4 separate regions of the Homo sapiens genome follow, and all the other regions are linked to region 2. Evidence: promoter capture Hi-C in 16 types of primary human blood cells and fetal thymus (Javierre and others, 2016). All regions are on one chromosome and are shown on one strand. Each heading gives the region's core, a stretch centred on a gene start or on the middle of the fragment in contact. The rest is flanking DNA. Distances are from core to core; before and after follow the strand shown.

Region 1 (3,180 bases), core at 531-3,030, 440 kb after region 2:
GAGGTCATCATAAGGATTGGAAACTTTATCCTAAGGGTAATGGAAAAGCAATGGAGACTTAAAGCCAGGGGAAAAAACTTTTTAAAAAGCTTAACATAGCTAAAATGTGGAATATACGTACACATTAATTTACTATTTAATTTGTTCCAGAATGTGTTCTTACATCTTAACCCAACAATATTAAGAATTGTTTTTAAGATGGAGCCTTGCTATGTTGCCCAGGCTGGCCCCAAACTCCTTGGCTCAAGTGATCCACCTGGCTCAGCCTCCTGAGTAGCTGAGATTATAGGCACCTGCCACTGTGCCAGGCTAATATTAAGAATTTTAACAAATATGACCAGGTGAGGTGGCTCACCTGTAATCCCATTACTTTGGGAAGCCAAGGCTGGAGGTTCTTGAGCCCAGGAGTTTGAGACCAGCCTGGGCAACATAGGGAGACTGCTGTTTCTACAAAAAATAAAAAAATTAGCTGGGCATCGTGAGGGAAGCCTGTAGTCCTAGCTACTCGAGAGGCTGAGGCAGGGGAATTACTTGAGCCCGGGGGTTGAGGCTGCAGTGAGCTGTGATCATGCCACTATACTCCAGCCTGGGCAACAGAGCAAGACCCTGTCTCAAAAAAAAAAAAAAAAAAAAAGAAAGAAAGAAAGAAAAAGAAAAAGAAAAGAAAGAACTTTTACATATATGGAACAAACTATCCAGGTTTTTGATATGTAAAAGTTTTCTGAGAATAGAAAAGACCCTGGGATTGTTAAGCAAAGCAAAAAAGTGCTTGGATGCATATTCTTAGTATGCCTTGAAGTGATGGACCTAAGTCCTAAGTTTCTTTGCTTTTCATCTTTATCACATTTTAACTTGAATTGCCAATTGAATTGGTACAATAATAATGTCAGGGAAAAGAGGAAGGTGTGTGTTATTTCGTTTTCACACTGCTATAAAGATACTACCCGAGACTGGGTAATTTATAAGCAAAGGGGGTTTAATTGACTCACAGTTCCATATAGTTGGGGAGGCCTCAGGAAACTTACAATCATGGTGGAAGGGGAAAAATGGACCTTCTTTACAAGGCAGCAGGGAGAGACAAACAAAGGAGGAAGTTCCAAACACTTACAAAAACATAAGATCTTGTGAGAACTCACTCACTCATGAGAACAGCATGGGGGAAACCACCCCCATGATCCAATCACCTCCCTCCCTGGACACGTGGGGATTACAGGTCCCTCCGTCAACATGTGGGGATTATAAATAGAGATCAGATTTGGGCAGGGACATAGGGCCAAACCATATCAGTGTGTGCATGTGTACATGCATGTACATGTTTCCCATGGTTTTGAAGAACAGATTTATGACAATGAATATCAGTATCACATTCTTAGTGCTCCAAATTACTATCTACCTGATAAAAGTTAGGAAAGTAGAAACTAGAAAATATTAAAAGATTATGTTATTTTAGTTGGGTGTTTTAAGAAAAATATGGCAACTTCTAGGTAACTGAACAGACTTTGACATGAAATATGTTGCTGTTAGATTAGGGACCCACAAGATGATTTCAGTAAGTACTGTGCTTCGGGTAGTAAAGAGATGCATGAACACTAAGGCCTTCTGCCAATAAAATAAGAGAGGCTACGGTTTTTGTTTTTGTTTTTCAATACTTTTCAATCTTTCCTATGAGCATCTCTTCTTGTCTTCTCCAGATTGTGTCCATTAAATCAGCAGATAAGAATTTTAGGTGTGGTAATTTCTCAGAGGTATTTGCTTATTGGGAGTTGGGGGAAACCTTGAAGATAGTAAGATTTCCCTTAGTAAATATTAGGAGAATGGAGAAGTGAAGGGGGAGAGAAAGCTCTGAATATTATTCCCCAACTGTCACCTCAGTGCCTCCCAAATCAGAAGTTTCTTTTCTTCAATCTTGGACTGCAATGATTCCCGACTATTCTTCAGGCTAAAAGACTCCCTCTTTGGAGTGAATGAATAAATATACACTTGGCAAACTGTTTGAAAAAGGCTACTGACCCTTGATCTAAGAAATCTTGAGCAACAGGAGACCTGAATTTAAATGTCAATTTGTATCTGACTCACTATTTGAAGAGAATGAATTACTCATTTGATTGAATCACTTAACTCTATGGTCTGAGGTGTGGTACTGAAGAGGAATGAATGGCTAGCTTCACACATATTGTGTACTGAGTATGCAACTGATAATAAATGTGTTTCTGCTTTGATGAGAATGATTTACCAAGTTCCTAATTGTGCACAGGATTTATAAACATTCAGAATATATAGGATAAATATTAAAATAAATTAGGGCTTGTTACGATGTCATGGCACAGGCTGTCTATTATTATAAAAAGGGAGGAGGCCTGCTATGTATTAATCGTCAGGTTACCAAAGCTCTGGGTAAATTTGGTAAGAATGTTAAGAGTAGCTTCTCAGCAAGTACTGTGTTTGATTGAAAAGAGGCCATTCCATCTACTTGGACAGAAATGTGGTTATATTAGCCTGTTTTATGTGATAAAAGGTTTTTGAAAAGTTTTAAATCTCTAGCATTGGACTCACAATGTCCTAATATTGTGTTCTTTTCTGTAATCAGTCATGAATAAAGAAATCTATCTTCTAGCACTGGATGCCAATAGATTTGAATGTGAGTTCAGACCTATGAGTATTATAGACAAAGACTAGATTGAGAGCTGGGTACAGTGATTCACACCTAAAATCCCAGCTACTTGTGAGGCTGAGGCGGGAGGACTGCTTGTGGCTAGGAGTTAGAGATAGATAGCCTGGGCAATACAGTTAGGCTGCATCTCTATTTAAAAAAAAAAAAGACTAGATAGAGTATTATTTTAAAAAATAATGTTATGCTGTAGTAGTTCTATTTTACTCTTTTTAGCTTGATATAAAAGAGCAAAAGGGACTGGGCAAGGTGGCTCACACCTGTAATCCCAGAACTTTGAGATGCCAAGGCAGGTGGATCACTTGAGGTCAGGAGTTTGAGACCAGCCTGGCCAACATGGTGAACCTTGTCTCTACTGAAAATACAAAAATTAGCTGGGCGTGGTGGCACACACCTGTAGTCCCAGCTACTTGGGAGGCTGAAGCACAAGAATTGCCTGAACCCAGGAGGCAGAGGTTGCAGTGAGCTGAAATTGTGCCACTGCACTCCAGCCTGGGTGACAGAGTAAGTCT
Region 2 (3,035 bases), core at 174-2,673:
AACGGAACAGTGATGAACATAACTTGCTAAGTAAGCTCAGCCGTGTAACAAGACCCTAGATTCCCCTCCCTTCTTCATCCTACCAGAACATTATCCTTAAGGTTTTCCTAATCAGCAGTCTGCGTCTAACTAACCCTAACTATCCAGAGTCACCTAACATATACTTATTTCCTTGTTTCAGATTCCCATTACGCCTATCTTAATGGGACAACTGGGTCCGAAATTATGCATGTGTTTTTTTGTTTTGTTTTTGCGGTGTACTTATTATCCGCACTTTATCATTAAATTCCTGAAAAGCTAGAACAAAACAAATCCGTGTCATTCACTATGTGCATCCTCTCTGCTTGGGGACGCCAAGGGTTTCAAGCTGCTGCCTCCCTGCCCTGGTCTCTGCTTGCCGTATCCAGCACTGGGTAAGCGCCCAGGTTCTGCTCCGGGACTAAAACTCATGATCTTCTGGCTCAGGTTCTGTGAACTGAGTCATTCTGGCACTGAGAATATTCCGTGACTCAGCAGGCCCGAAAAGGAGGATGTCAGAATCCACATAATTTCGAGTCTTTTAAAGGCAAGCCGAGGAACACAAACAACACAGTGGAAGAATTTCGCAGTGGGTCGTGCGTACCCAAGGGAAAAATTCATTCCATTCCCAGCCTTTTCACTTCCTTCCTTGCCCCGGTAAAACGACTGGTTACACTTTAAATCAGCGGCAGGAAATCGCTTCACGAAACTCATCTGGCTGCTGCGACCAGGCCCTTCTGATTCTCCAGGGACCGTGTCGGCCCCATGAACGCCCCGGGACCTCTGTTCGGGAGGGGCTGGAGCGGGGCCCCGGGCAGCAGCGGGCGCTCCCGGTTCGGACCCACACCTGGCCGGGCGGGGACCCTCTTGCCGCAGCCCAAATTGGCGCGAGGCCCCAGGGACGACCCCGAGCGACCTCCTGACCCGGCATCGCCCCTCTAAGGCGCCCTCCCCCGACTCCTCCCGCAATCCGGAGTCTCCCAGGCCGCGGAGCCCAAGGACCCCAGCGACTCCCGCGCGGGGAGCGGGTCTGCGAGGCCGCCCTTCCCTCCCGGCATGCACCACCCAGCCGCCCTCCCCTCCCCTCCTCTCCTCTCCCCTCCCCTCCTCTCCCCTCCTCTCCCCTCCCCTCCCCCAACCCCCTCCCCCGGCTCCCCGCCCACCTCGCGCGCCCCTCCCCCCGGGTCGCGCGCCGCGGGCCCGAGCGCGAGACGCCGCTGCTCCCGCCCCCGCCGCCTCCTGGAGTCGCCGGGGCGGACGCGCAGTCCATGGGGCGCGGTGGGCCGGGGAGTTGCCCCAGGGGCCGCGGGAGTTGCTGAGAGGAGACAGGGTTGGGCTTTCTCCTCGCCCAGACCCCACCCCACCCTGCCGACCCCACCCCCTGCTCCTTCCTCCCCGGGGGCGCGCACTCGGGCACGCGCTCGGAAGTCGGGGGTCGGCGCGGAGTGCAGGCTGCTCCCGGGGTAGGTGAGGGAAGCGCGGAGGCGGCGCGCGGGGGCAGTGGTCGGCGAGCAGCGCGGTCCTCGCTAGGGGCGCCCACCCGTCAGTCTCTCCGGCGCGAGCCGCCGCCACCGCCCGCGCCGGAGTCAGGCCCCTGGGCCCCCAGGCTCAAGCAGCGAAGCGGCCTCCGGGGGACGCCGCTAGGCGAGAGGAACGCGCCGGTGCCCTTGCCTTCGCCGTGACCCAGCGTGCGGGCGGCGGGATGAGAGGGAGCCATCGGGCCGCGCCGGCCCTGCGGCCCCGGGGGCGGCTCTGGCCCGTGCTGGCCGTGCTGGCGGCGGCCGCCGCGGCGGGCTGTGCCCAGGCAGCCATGGACGAGTGCACGGACGAGGGCGGGCGGCCGCAGCGCTGCATGCCCGAGTTCGTCAACGCCGCCTTCAACGTGACTGTGGTGGCCACCAACACGTGTGGGACTCCGCCCGAGGAATACTGTGTGCAGACCGGGGTGACCGGGGTCACCAAGTCCTGTCACCTGTGCGACGCCGGGCAGCCCCACCTGCAGCACGGGGCAGCCTTCCTGACCGACTACAACAACCAGGCCGACACCACCTGGTGGCAAAGCCAGACCATGCTGGCCGGGGTGCAGTACCCCAGCTCCATCAACCTCACGCTGCACCTGGGTAAGCGGTGACAGCCCCGTCCCCTGCTACTGCTCGCCAGCAGCCCAGCTCCCGGACCGGCTCCGTCCCAGTGGCCGGCCTCACGGGCGCAGACGGCCGCGTGTTTGCTCTCTGTTCCCCGGCATGGGCCACACAGAAACTCCTTTCTCCAACTTCTTAAATAGATACTGCTTTTAACATCCCGTGAGGGCCAGGATGTTCCGCACGAGTCTCTCTGCTTTCCTGTTCTTTCTGACTTAACGGGATTCTGGCTCTCTGATTATTCTGCATTTCGGCTGTTAGGATTGTGATTTCCCCCTTTTTTTTCTGAAGCGTTAATCAGAAACTCCCATCCCCACTTTTCTCTTTGCTAGCAAGGTCATCACAGCGCATTCTTGGATCGGAAACAAGAAGGTCCGCCTTAAACACTTTCGCCTTTAAAATGTTTAGATGTCCTTCCAGGGCTGAGGGTGATTGCTCTGTTGAGTTAAGGGGGAATTTGAGGGGAGCAAATGCCTTCGCTGCCTATATTGCCTATGTGTAATTAAAACATAAATTCACTTTTGAAGTTATTGTTCTTTATAGCTGCTCAGCCTTAATTAAGAACCACAAAGCGATTTGACTGCTAATCCTGGTGCAGAATGAACAAAAGGAAGTGCACTCACTGTAATTGCTGGGCATAGCCTTGTCCCTGGGTAAAAAGGCTCTCCTTTACTGTCTTCCCTTTTGCTTTCATTCAAAGCAACTGTAGAAACACGTGTAAGTGATGTTTCAGAAATCAGGAAAGGGATGTGTAGAAAACTTCATGGCAGGGCAGTGGATTGAGGATGGACATATGTATCTGGAAGCACCAAAAATAATGTTCGGTCTAGCTAAGGTTTTCTTCATCATTGAGATACGTAAATAGGCAGAAAGTTT
Region 3 (3,300 bases), core at 333-2,832, 300 kb after region 2:
CCAGGACAGGGAAAATTTGATGTGTTCTAGAACTTGAAGAATCTATATCACTAGAGTGGTCAATAGGCACCATATCATGTTGGGTGTGCTCTAAGGGAAAAAGAAGTCATTGGGGGATTTAAGAAAGAGAGTGACATGATCTTACTCATGAAAAGCACCCTGGGCTGTGAGGAGAATGGATTGAGAAGCTCGCAGAACAAGATTGCAATGGACAAGGTGAGACTCCATTAGAAAGATGGAAAGAAGAGGATGGATTTAAAATATACATTGGAGGAAGAATCACCAGGTGGGCTGAAACTTTGACTCTGAGGGTTAAAGAAGGGACTAGATAACCAGGTGGATGGAAGAGGACTGGGAGAGGACCAAGAAAAATTAATGAATAGGATTAATCTCCAGTCACACAACAGAGAGGGAAAGAGTGGACATAGCTATCCCCATTACCCTTTCTCAGCAGTATTCATAATTATATTTTATGTATGTATGTATGTATGTATGTATGTATGTATTTATTTTTGAGACAGAGCTCACTCTGTCACCCAGGCTGGAGTGAGGTGGTGCAATCTCGGCTCACTGCAACCTCCGCCTCCCAGGCTCAAGCAATTCTCCTGCCTCAGCCTCCCAAGTAACTGGGATTACAGGCATGTGCCACCATACTTGGCTAATTTTTGTATTTTTAGTAGAGACAGCTGGTCTCTACTAAATGTTGGCCAGGCTGGTCTCGAACTCCTGACCTCAAGTGATCCGCCTGCCTCGGCCTTCCAAAGTGCTGGGATTACAGGCATGAGCCACTGTGCCTGGCCCTAATTATACATTTTTTAAATAACAAAGTGGAGACAGACATTTAAGATAACTTCTCTCAGTTCACACAGCGAATTATGAAGATGTGTTGGCTCAAGCATCACCAATCCAGTACGCCAAAAGGGCCATATTTGCAGGCATTCCTTCTTGCTACCTCGACAGCTCATGTATACCAGTGCTTCTTACTGTTTGCCAGCAACTCTTCTCAAATTCAGACATCTGTACACTGCACAGACATCAGTATGTCCCAGAATCGTTTCCAACGGAGTGGTGGGTAGGGGTGAGTGGTTGAAGAAGAGCAGGGATGTTTATTCGCCAGCACTGAGTTCTCTGTACTCACAAACTAGGCAATTTCTCAGTGCCACAAGGACATTTCTGAGTCACTTGGACAGATCTCTTGGGAGTGATGCCTGGAGAATTAGAAATAAAAATAGTCTTCTTAGCTGCTGTTTTTTGTGTGTGTATGTGTGTTTTTCCCCTTTTGCCCTGGGAAGCTACTGCTTTCCCTCCCTGTCCTCGCTGGCCCTGTCTACTCCCTGGCTCCCCTGGGTTTCAGAGGAGCTGGCACTGAACACTGCTCTTTCTCACTTGACATCCTCTCTCCAACTTAGCAAGCAGGTCTTCTGCCAAATCTCCAGGTCGGTGGCTCATCAACGTCAGCTGCCCCCACAGCTTCTAGGGCAGGCGGAGAGGTTGTTCCCTCCAGGACTTGGGCCAGAGAGGGGAGAATAGGGGTCATGGGAGGGAACCATCACCTGGTCTCGGACCACACAGTATTGCAGCTGGACTCCAGCCACTCAAACACACTGAGTTGGCAGGTCCCTGAAAACTGAAAAGGGAGAGGGATCAGATGCCGCAGGCCAGGACCCTGGCTTCCTGGCTCCCTGGCTTCCTCCCCACCCATCTGCTCTACCCCCTCTCACCTCCAGAAGCCTTGGAGGGGCTATGATTGTTTTGGACAGTCTGAAGCTGAGATCAGCAAAATACGGACCCTCAGAGAGCATTTTGAAAAGAGCCTCTCTGGTGCTACATGTTAATAAGCCCTTCTAGGAGAATGCTCTTCTAGAATTTGCCATTTCTGCCTCCCTACCATTCCTCCTTGGGCAATGCCCTTGGGCAATGAAACCTCTGCTCTCTAGTCCTTTCTGAGGGAGATGGTGATCAGGACAAAGCCCTAGCCAGCCCCATGAGTCAGCATGGTCACTGCTGATCTGACCATCAGGCTTGGTGTCAGGAGCTAGCAATCCTCCTGGCTCTAGTTAGGTGACTTGTCTCTAGGAGCCCTGCCTACTGTCCTCCCAACCTCAACACCTAGTGCCATGGGAATGATGTTCTGCACCAACAAACCTTTGCCTCCTGTGAGGAAGATCTTGTGGAATGTCTGCCGCAATCTACAGAGTCTCCTAGCCTGACCTGTGGACTCACAGTAATAGTTGGTAGCCACCTTGTAAAATGTGACCCTACTTCCCATTCCAACATCAGTTGATTGGACTATAAAAGCCAATAGAAATCCTTCCCCCGGTATTTGGATTGCAGGAGAGAGAGACAGAGAAACATGGAGACAGAGAGATTTGGTCCTTCTGTGGGGCTGTGGTTGTCTGTTTTTGTGCTGTGCAGAGGTAGCAGAGGTAGCAGAGGTAGAGGAGCAGAGGTAGCAAGTCGGTAGAAATAGCAAACAATGTATCAGCTACAGAGAAAGAGGCAAAGATGAGAGACAGACATACTGCAAGGGTTCCCTACAGCTTTCCAAATCAGGGTTCCTAGCCTCCCTGAAGCCCATTTCTGCCTATGGGGGTTCATGATTTCTATCCCCCTACCAGCATAAACTAGAGTAACAATCATGTTGTTGTATTCCTTTAATTCAAACAAATATCCATTTTAATTGTGTGTGTGTGTATGTGTGTGTGAAGAAACACTAAATTGAAGATAAATATTATAAAATTTATTGCAGTTTCAGAAATGCTCAGCATGAAAGTCATATATCTTAGCATTGAGGAAATAGGATATTTTAAATTCCCTGATCTGGACTCTTAATTAGGTAAAATGGTCCATTTTAACCCATTAAAGTGTACATTCCTCCAAGTCATTCAGGAGAGGTTGGAAACTATCTGTTAAAACCTGTGTGGGAGGAGACCTACTTGGATAATCTTCGGCTGGATAAGAATAGCTTTTAGCAATTTCTTACTGAGCCTGCCATGGGGATGACCCTGCTAAGATCATTATTCAAGCCCTCACTGTTCCCCTCATGGAGGGCTGCAGCCAGAGCCACACTGAGCTGTCCTCCTTCCCAACAGATACTGCCCACCCATCACCTTTTTGCTGAACATATTCACTTTCCTTCCTGCTCCTACCTTTTCTTGATAACCCCCAAGGTGAGATCCAGGAGCCTGCAGAGATGGTTGGTTCCAAGCTTGACTGAGTGCTCTATGGGGGCATTGCAAGCATCCGGTGTTAGAGAGGTATAGAAGTCATCTAATCTACTCCCTCCTCTGAAAGCCATGG
Region 4 (3,133 bases), core at 428-2,927, 270 kb after region 2:
CATGCAGTTTCCCCCATTATATTAATAATTTTGCACTAGTGTGGCACACTTGTTATACTTGACAAATCATTATTAACACATTATTAACTATAGTCAATAGTTTACATTAAGATTTACTCTGTGTTGTAGAGTTCTGTGGGTTTTGACAATTGTATCCTTCATTATAGTATCATACCCAGTATTTTCATCCCCTAAAAATTCAGTGTTCCACCCATTCATGCCTCCTCTTTTCCCAAACCCCTGGCAACCACGGTTCTGTTTACTTTTTCTATAGATTTGACGTTTCCAAAATGCCATATGGTTGGAATCATACAGTATGTACCCTCTTTGGACTTGCTGTTTTCACTAAGCAGTATGCATTTAAAGTTCCTCCATGTCTTTTCATGGCTCGATAGCTCATTTCTTTCTTTTTCTTTGAGAGGAAGTCTCGCTCTTGTCCCCTAAGCTGGAGTGCAGTGGCGCCATCTCAGCTCACTGCAACCTCCGCCTCCCGGGCTTAAGCGATTCTCCTGCCTCAGCCTCCCAAGTAGTTGGGATTACAGGCGCCTACCACCATGCCCAGCTAATTTTTTGTATTTTTAGTAGAGATGGGGTTTCACTATGTTAGCCAAACTGGTCTCAAACTCCTGACCTCAGGAGATCCGCCTGCCACGGCCTCCCAAAGTGCTGGGATTACAGGCGTGAGCCACCGCGCCCGGCCGGCAGCTCATTTCTTTTAATCACTAAATGATAGTCTATTGTCTGGAAGTACTTCAGTTTATCCATTCATCTACCAAAGAACATCTTTGCTGCTTCCAGTTTTTAGTGATTATAAATAAAGCTGATATGACATTCATGTGCAGGTTTTTGTGAAGACGTAAATTAGGGAATCTACACAAGGAGCCATATGAATCATATGGTAAGATTATGTTTAGCTTTTTAAGAGGCTGTCAAATTGTCTTCCAAAGTGGTTGTGCCATTTTATATTCCTACCAGGAATGAATGAGACTTTCTGTTGCTCCAAATTCTTACCAGCATTTGGCATTATTTGGATTTTAATAAGTGTGTCACTCTGATAAGTGTGTCACATTTGCTTTTTTTTTTGATGGAGTCTAGCTCTGTTGCCCAGGCTGGAGTACAGTGGCATCATCTTGGCTCACTGCAACCTCCGCCTCCTGGGTTCAAGTGATTCTTGTGCCTCAGCCTCATAGGTAGCTGGGATTACAGACGTGCACCACCATACCCAGCTAATTTTTTTATTTTTTAGTAGAGATGGGGTTTCACCATGTTAGCCAGGCTGGTCTTGAACTCCTGACCTCAGGTGATCTGACCACCTCAGCCTCCCAAAGTGCTGGGATTACAGGCATGAGCCACCGCACCCAGCCCCATATTTGCTTTTTAAAAGAGTTGTAGTACTTCACTTGTTTTCAGATCTTATTCTGAGGCCAAATTAAAGGCCTTGCAACAATCTATTCTGATATTTGAAGAAATTGCACAGCCTCTCCCTGTTTCTCTTGGACCTTCACACTCCGCTCCTCTTCGGGGTCATTTCTATCTGGCCCTTGGCAGTCACAGACCCTCTGCTGCAATAAGCCAGAACTTCTTTACTCTCCCTGTCCTCCAAATAGTGCCTTCTAACTCTTCACTTCCCAAGCACTTCATTCAAACCCAGCTCTACCCTACCCCACATCTAGCATGCCTTCCCTGCCCAACAGCCTCCTGCTCTGGACTTATTTCCCGGCCACCTCACTAATCTCACTGTGTATCCAGTGCAGTCCAAGGGACCTGGAAACTGTTTCTGTAAAATGCCTTCTTTGCAAAGTTGTTGTGAGGATCAAATCAAATTACGAAAGTAAAAGTGCATAGCGCTAAGTGGTTTTACTGGAGAATTCCACATAAAGAACTAAAACCAAGTCTACATAAACTCTTCTAGAAAGTAGAAAAGGAAGGAACCCTTTTTTTTTTTTTTTTGAGACGGAGTTTCGCTCTTGTTGCCCAGGCTGGAGTGCAACGGCGTGATCTCGGCTCAGCGCAACCTCTGCCTCCCGGGTTCAAGCGATTCTCCTGCCTCCGCCTCCCGAGTAGCTGGAATTACAGGGATGTGCCACCATCCCCGGCTAATTTTGTATTTTTAGTAGAGACGAGGTTTCTCCATGTGGTCAGGCTGATCTTGAACTCCCGACCTCAGGTGATCTGCCCACCTCGGCCTCCTAAAATGCTGGGATTACAGGCGTGAGCCACCATGCCCGGCCTAGGAAAGAACACTTTTCAATTTATTTTATAAAGCCAGTATTACCCTGATATCAAAACCAGGCAAAGACAGTACAAAGAAGAAACTACAGGCCAATATCCTTTATGATTGAATACTCAAAAATCCTTAACAAATGTTAGCAAATAGAATCCAGCTATATATAGAAAGAATTATACACTGTGACTAAGTGGTGTATATTCCAGGGATACAAGGCTGTTTTTTCAGTATTTGAAAAATCATTCAATGTAATCCACCAGCAAGCTAAAGAAAAATCTCATGATCCTATCAATTGATGCAGAAAAAGCGTTTGACAAAATTCAACATTCATTCATGACAAAAACTCTCAGTATAATAGGAATAGAAAGAAACGTCCTCGACTTGACAAAGAGCATCTGCAAAAACCTGCAACTAACATCATACTTAGTGGTGAAAGATTGAATGCTTTCTCCCTAAAATGAAGAACAAGGAAGGAAGTGTGCTCTCATTGCTGTTATTCAACCAGAAGTTCTAGTGCACACCATAAGGCAAGAAAAGGAAATAAAAGGCATACAGATAAAAAAAGGAAAATAAAAAAACCTGTCTCTATTTGTAGATGACTTGATGATCTACCTAGAAATCCCAATAAATTTACAAGGAAACTCCAGCAACTAATAAGTGAGCTCAACAAGGTCATAAGTTACAAGATCAACATAAGAAAATTAATTGTATTTCCATATGCTAGCAACAAACAAAATCAAAATAAAAATACAAAGCAAATGTTAATCAATTCAATGAAATACTTAGGTATAAATATAATAAAACATATACAGGGCTTGTATGTTAAAAACTACAAGATGCTGATGAAAGAAATCAAAGAAGATCTAAATAAATGTAGAGACCTATGCATTTTAAATCTTAACTGAG

What was found. Contacts are between HindIII fragments. The CHiCAGO score rates a contact against its expected background, and 5 or more counts as called.
Region 1: a contact is called between a fragment that was not itself captured here and the fragment with the promoter of LAMC1 in region 2, in 3 of 17 cell types (total B cells, endothelial precursors and naive B cells). The highest score is 7.4, in total B cells.
Region 3: a fragment that was not itself captured here is called in contact with the fragment with the promoter of LAMC1 in region 2 in 1 of 17 cell types (endothelial precursors); the score reaches 6.2 in endothelial precursors.
Region 4: a fragment that was not itself captured here is called in contact with the fragment with the promoter of LAMC1 in region 2 in 1 of 17 cell types (endothelial precursors); the score reaches 6.8 in endothelial precursors.

Annotation. Positions count from the first base shown.
Region 1 is chr1:183,465,819-183,468,998 of GRCh38, forward strand. All of the region lies in intron 3 of SMG7-AS1 (SMG7 antisense RNA 1), which reads right to left. Among named protein-coding and RNA genes, the nearest start is that of SMG7-AS1, 4.6 kb to the right of the region's middle. The HindIII fragment of the contact is 3,386 bases long and covers 88-3,180 here.
Region 2 is chr1:183,021,997-183,025,031 of GRCh38, forward strand. It overlaps LAMC1 (laminin subunit gamma 1), which reads left to right and starts at 1,424. Exons shown (of 28, transcript NM_002293.4): 1 at 1,424-2,138. The coding sequence starts at 1,721. RefSeq lists enhancers at 121-676, 677-1,231, 1,787-2,340 and silencers at 743-1,132, 1,163-1,552, 1,603-1,672, 1,693-1,832. The HindIII fragment of the contact is 7,676 bases long and covers 1-3,035 here.
Region 3 is chr1:183,326,556-183,329,855 of GRCh38, forward strand. The region is part of intron 1 of NMNAT2 (nicotinamide nucleotide adenylyltransferase 2); the gene reads right to left. Among named protein-coding and RNA genes, the nearest start is that of NMNAT2, 90 kb to the right of the region's middle. The HindIII fragment of the contact is 3,248 bases long and covers 1-3,206 here.
Region 4 is chr1:183,295,450-183,298,582 of GRCh38, forward strand. The region is part of intron 1 of NMNAT2 (nicotinamide nucleotide adenylyltransferase 2); the gene reads right to left. Among named protein-coding and RNA genes, the nearest start is that of LAMC2, 110 kb to the left of the region's middle. The HindIII fragment of the contact is 9,865 bases long and covers 1-3,133 here.